Regions from separate parts of the Homo sapiens genome. Here region 1 is linked to region 2. The links are contacts of gene promoters, found by promoter capture Hi-C in blood cells and fetal thymus (Javierre and others, 2016). All regions are on one chromosome and are shown on one strand. Each heading gives the region's core, a stretch centred on a gene start or on the middle of the fragment in contact. The rest is flanking DNA. Distances are from core to core; before and after follow the strand shown. Region 1 holds the start of FFAR3 (free fatty acid receptor 3). Region 2 holds the start of LSR (lipolysis stimulated lipoprotein receptor).

What was found. The method cuts DNA at HindIII sites, captures the fragments that hold promoters and counts their contacts. A CHiCAGO score of 5 or more calls a contact.
Region 1: a contact is called between the fragment with the promoter of FFAR3 here and the fragment with the promoter of LSR in region 2, in 2 of 17 cell types (monocytes and neutrophils). The highest score is 7.4, in monocytes.

The regions. Positions count from the first base shown.
Region 1 is chr19:35,357,083-35,359,873 of GRCh38, reverse strand. FFAR3 (free fatty acid receptor 3) reads right to left here and starts at 1,414. Exons shown (of 2, transcript NM_005304.5): 1 at 1,225-1,414; 2 at 1-994. The coding sequence starts at 983. RefSeq lists an enhancer at 1-93. The HindIII fragment of the contact is 8,969 bases long and covers 1-2,791 here.
Region 2 is chr19:35,247,441-35,250,291 of GRCh38, reverse strand. LSR (lipolysis stimulated lipoprotein receptor) reads right to left here and starts at 1,290. Exons shown (of 10, transcript NM_205834.4): 1 at 1,161-1,290. The coding sequence starts at 1,269. RefSeq lists silencers at 1,127-1,196, 1,607-1,686 and enhancers at 799-1,600, 1,601-2,403, 2,537-2,706. The HindIII fragment of the contact is 9,039 bases long and covers 1-2,851 here.

The DNA.
Region 1 (2,791 bases), core at 165-2,664, 110 kb before region 2:
GTCTTTCTTTCAGCTGGTCGGTCCGCTCTCTGCTCCTCCCCTCCCTTCTGCTCCTTCAGCTCCATGCTGCTCTCCTGCTGCCACTGGCCCCAGAGCCCACACAACCTCCTCAGCAGCTCATGAAAGTCGGCTTGGAACCCGGAGGAGGAGAAGTAGTAGACAAAGGGGTCGACACAGGAGTTCAGGGTGCTGAGAAGCGTCACGTAGATCCTCCACGCCGGGCTTTCACCGCAGATATAGCCCACGACATGGGACACGTTGTAGGGCCCAAAGCAGACAAGGAAGTTGAGCAGCGTGGCCGCCAACAGCCCCGCCACCCTCCTCTGCCGGCGGTGGCTGCCCCCTCTGCCGAGGATCCACACCAGGCGGCTGTAGCAGTAGCTGGTGATGATCAGCGGGACCACAAAGAGGACCACAGCCATCTCCAGCCGCACGGGCAGGAGGATGGCTAGCTGGTCCTTCCGGAACTCCAGGTAGCAGGTCCCATTGGTGCCCTGGCTGTGGGAGATGTCCCCTGAGAATTCTATGACGTAGACCACGCTGCAGTGAGCAGAGGCCAACAGCCAGCAGGCCACACTCACCAGACCTGCCTGCCCCAGCCTCGGCCGGGTCTTGTACCACAGTGGGTGGGCCACACTCAGGAAGCGTTCAATGCTCACAGCTGCCAGGAAGAGGGCGGTGAGATAGATGGTGGTGAAGAAGATGAATCCAGAGAGTGGGCAGAGGATGAAGGGCAGGGGCCAGTGCATGCCATTGGCTGCCTCCACCATGCGGAAAGGCAGGAACAGCAGCAGGAGCAGGTCCGAGGCGGTCAGGTTGAGCAGGAGCACGTCCACGGCCACCGGGCGGCGCTGCAGCTTGCCCACGAAGACCACCAGGGCCAGCAGGTTGAGGGGGAGCCCCACCAGGAAAGTGAGAAGGTACACCGAGAAGACGAACCAGTGATTGCCGGAGAAGTAGGACTGGTCGGGGCCTGTATCCATGGTGGTGGCCACTGGTGAGAGAGAGTAACATGGAGTTGGTAGTGGGGGCCCTAACGGCCTCTGGCCAGCAGCATCTCCCCTAAAAGGGCACGAGGTCACTACGCCCACCCCTCTTGTCTCTGGGTGCCTTCCAGGCGGGGTCAGCCTGCCTGTCTTCCTGAGCATGCCCTGTCCCCTGTCCCTTCCCCAGCAGAGAAGCACCAAGGTGCTCCTCCACCCAGCCCCTCGGGCCCAGGCTCACCTGCTTCTTTGAGACCCCAAATGCTCTGCCGCACAGCACCTTGCTGTCTCTCCAGACCTAGTGCAGTTGGCTATTTATCCGGCAGAACTGATAAAGACCTGGCCGTGCCCATGACGTCACTCACTGTTGAGCAGTGGCACATAGATGCCTTGAGCTCCGTTGCCAGGGCTGGTCAGCATGCTAAAAGGGGAACAAATTCCACAACTGCGTGCCTCCCTCCTCATGCAGTCTCAGCTGGGATGCTCTAAGCAGGCCCCAGCCGACGTCTTCCTCTCCCCTTCTTCACTTGAATTTTGTCTGCTTCTCTAGAATGGCATTTATCCAATTTGCCTTGTAAGGGCAGGAAGTGTGATGCAATGACAGAGAGCGAGCTCCGTGAGGTCTGTTTCTTCCTGACTTTGTGATTTGGGGGAAATGACTTAAATTCTCCATGTTTCTGCTTTCTCCCCTGCAGAACAGAGCTCATCATAATACCCATCTCATAGATCAACGCATTAACACATGCAAATTAAAACAATATGTAGGTCGATTAAAAGATTACTAATACATGTTGAGTGGTTTGACGGAAGCCTGGCGTGTGGTCGTGAGCAGGCAGCGGATGCCAGCTGCTATTTTCCCTGTCACTGGTGCAGGATTATCTCTGGGGTGACAATGTAATAATAATAACAATAATAATGGTGGTGGCGATGATGACAGCAGCTGCCTTTTCATGGGCACATAATCCATAGCAGACACTGCTTCTAGGGCAACGCTTTTATGTCATAAAATCCTTGTCCTTCACCGTAGGGAAGTGACTTGCTCCAGGTGATACAGCTTGTGAAATGTCACCACTAGGGTTCAAACCCAAGTGCTGTCCAGTTTCACAGGTGATCTATTAGTTCATTCAAACAATCACAGGGCACAATGAGATATGATTTCACATCCACTAGAATGGCCACAAGCAAAAAGTCAGACAATGCCTATGGTCGGCGAGAATGTAGAGAGATAGGGGCCTCATTCACTGCTGGTGAGAATAATGGGAGGTGGTGTCCCTGCTTTGGAAAGCAGGTGGCAGTTGCTTAAAAAGTTAAACATAAATTCACCATGCGATCCAACAATTCCACCGTAGGTATTTACTTAAGAGAAGTGGAAACTCAGGTCTACTTAAAGACTCAGTCCTAAATGTTCACAGCAGTGTTGGTCATAGTCACCAACAGTGGAAATGTTACCTGGCAGCCCATCAGCTGGTGAGTGAATAAAAAAGTGGCACATCCATATACTGGAATTCTATTTGGCAAAGAAAAGGAATGAGCTACCCATACACACTACAGCCTTATGTTGAGTGAAACAAGCCAGACGTAAAAGACCATGTACATATATTGTCAGATTTCATTTATTTATATGATATGTCCAGAATAGGCAAAGTTATAGAGTCAGAAAGTAGACTCGTGGTTGTCTGGGGGATGGAGGTAGAAATGAAGATTAAGTTGTTTTTTTTTTTTTTTTTTTTTTTTTGAGACAGGGTCTTGTTGTCGCCCAGGCTGGAGTGCAATGGTGCAATCTTGGCTCACTGCAAACTCTGCCTCCC
Region 2 (2,851 bases), core at 41-2,540:
AAGGGTTGCTGTGAGCTCAGGGAGGTGCTTCAACAGGAACGCCACCTGTCACCAGCTTGACACTCGCAAGTATGTGGTTTACAGAGTGCCTGGCACACATTGTTCCTTAATTGCCAGGACCAGTGAGGTAGCCACGATAATCATGCCCATTTTATAGACCCGTGGGGCTGAAGTGGCAGGTGCACGGTGACACGGCCAGTTTCCTTGGACTCGCCCGCCATCCCTCTTCCCAGCCTGTGGCCTCTGAACCACACCAGTCCCCTCTTCCCTTTGCCATTCACCCACAACAAGGGGCCTCTGTGTGGCCTGGGCAGGCAAGCCCAGATGGCCATGTTGATGCCCCCAGCGCCCAAGGCCCCACTTCAAAACCGACTACGAAGGATTCCAGGTTACCCGGGGCCTTTTGAATTTGGAGGGAAAACCATGGAGTTGTTTGCCTGAACTGCTTTGCCATGGAGGGACTAAAGCCCCCACAATATCTCCATCAGCCTCCCACCACCTCACCCTACTCTAAAGTCATTTCAAATGACTGAACCAAAAGTGTCTCGGGAAAGACCTCATCACCACCCAAATATCCCATCCAGGTGAAAGCCTGCCAGCAGAAGTCGGTTTCAAGTCCGTAAATCCATCCCACCAGACTCTTACGCACGTATAATCCGGAGCCCGCGGGAGGTGGGTGGGGTGCGGGGGATGGGGAGTCCCCAGTCCCACACCCACCCGAGGCCTAGGCATTGTTCCTTCGTCTCTGTCCCTCTAGGAAGCGTCTGATCCAGCCCTCCCGTGCCCTCTCCCCGTTACTCCAAAACTTAGAAATCCCCGGGTGCGCCCAAGTCCCATCCCGGCTTTTCTTTTCCCAGAGATCGGGCGGTCTTCCACTCCCTCCCCACAAAGAGTTCCATTCTCCCTGCCGCTCCGGGTCTCACCGTCCAGGGAGTTTCACTTCCTGCTATCTTCCAGATAAGGGCGCGGGGAGCGCTCCCCGGCACAAATGGGGAATTCCTCTCACTCCCGCGCGCAACAGATCGCCCAAGACCCAGGGGATCGGAAGGTCCCAGCCTCTGAGACCCCCGCTTCCCGCTTCCCGCCGCCTCCAACTCCATCCATCCCCCTCTACAGTTCCCTCCGGCGTTCCGCAGCGTCAGAGGCCCCGTGCCCCGTACCTGTGCACCAGGTGCTAAGCAGAAGCCACACGAAGACGACCGCGTCCCGGCCTGCGGCGGCCGGGTGGGAGCCCAGCCCTCTGGAGAGCCCGCCGGCCAACAGCGCCATCGCGGCCGTCTGGGCGCGTCTGGCCCGCGCGTCCCTTCCAAAGTACCTTAGGGGGCGCGGCGCGCACCAAGGCCAGGAGGGGTGCACGCTCCTCCCCTTCCCACTTCCGTTCCTTGTCCCTACTCCAAGTCCGTCCTGTTGCATTCTGGAAGTTTTAATGAGCGTAAACGACGTGGACAAAGGGCATGCTTTCAGATATGGGGGAGAAAGGTGCTTGACCCGCCGCGGTCCTCCGAGCCACACTCCACCCGCTGCGCGCTCCGGTGAATGGTTCGGCCCAGGTACACAAGGGTGGGAGCCGAGGGCTGGGCTTAGGGGTGAGCGGCGGGGAGGGGTTCCTCTGCCTCCCTCCCCGGAAGTGGGCTGACCCAGGTGCGCTCCGTCCCCCAGGGCCCGAACCAAGTGACTGGCCCGCTGGGAGGGCGCCTGCGGACCACAGGTCCCTTCCGGCCCCCATCTGCTCCGGCCAAACCAAGCGCACCGAGATCCATGCAACCGAGACCCACTTGGAGCGATTCACCTGTTGAGATAGGGCGGGTCCCGCCGCGCACCTGTTCCCTCCCTGCCCAAACCCCTCTCCCCGGCTGGCGATGGACCCGCCTAGGTGCGCCCTGCCGGGAGGAGCGAGTCTAAGCAAAGTCCTGGCTGGGAGAGGCTTGTTGGTGGCGCCTGACTTCTCCACTTCCACTGGGGTTCCTCCGGACCGGGTGGAGGGGGGGCGCTTCGGGCCTCCTGTGTCTCCCAGTTAGATGACCTGAGGAACCCTCTAAAGTCCCCGGAAGGGAAGCTCTGCCCCCTCAGGGATGCCCAAGGGGAATCAGGGCCAGGAAAAGTTGGAATTCCACTTCGGAAGTTTTCGCCACCTCCCCCACCCGTTCCCAACTTGTGGTTCGGCCCCTGGGCATCCCTAGCCCCCGGGTCAGCCCTCCGGAAATTCTGGCTCTTAAAGGGGCCGAGCGAAGGCGCGGGGCTTGGGACCGGTTTCCGCTTAGGAATTCCCGGAACGAGCCACCTGCGACCGAGGGCGGGGGCGCGGCGCGGCGATCAGCCTGCGCAGCGCTGGGCGTGACTCTGCTGTCTCCAGGTGGCGGCGAGGGAAAGCGCATCCTGGGGGAACCCTGGGCGCTTCCTCGCGTTAGACTCCCCCAGGTTGCCAACTGGCCAGTGGCTGGTTTCGGTACCCAGGCGTGCTTTGTTCTACTGGCCCTGTTAAAACTCAAGCCAGATCACGTCCACCTGCTCACAGCCCTCCTGTGGCTCCTCCTCACTCTCAGCAGAAACTGACCTTCCCCCTCTTATCTCACCTCCTCCCACTCTCTCTGGCTTACTCAGCTTCGGACACCCTGGCCTCCTCGCTGTTTCCAACTATACTTCTCACAGTCCTCAGAGCCATCGCCCGTGCTACTCCCTCTGCCAGAACACCCTTCCCGCAGATGTCCACATGATCTTCCTCCTCCTGTAGGACACCATTGCAGTGACACCTTCCCTGGCCACTTTTTATAAAATTTCAACCCGTTCACGTCCCTTCATCGTTTAAAAAAATATTTTTATGATAAAATATGCAAACTATAATATTTATCGC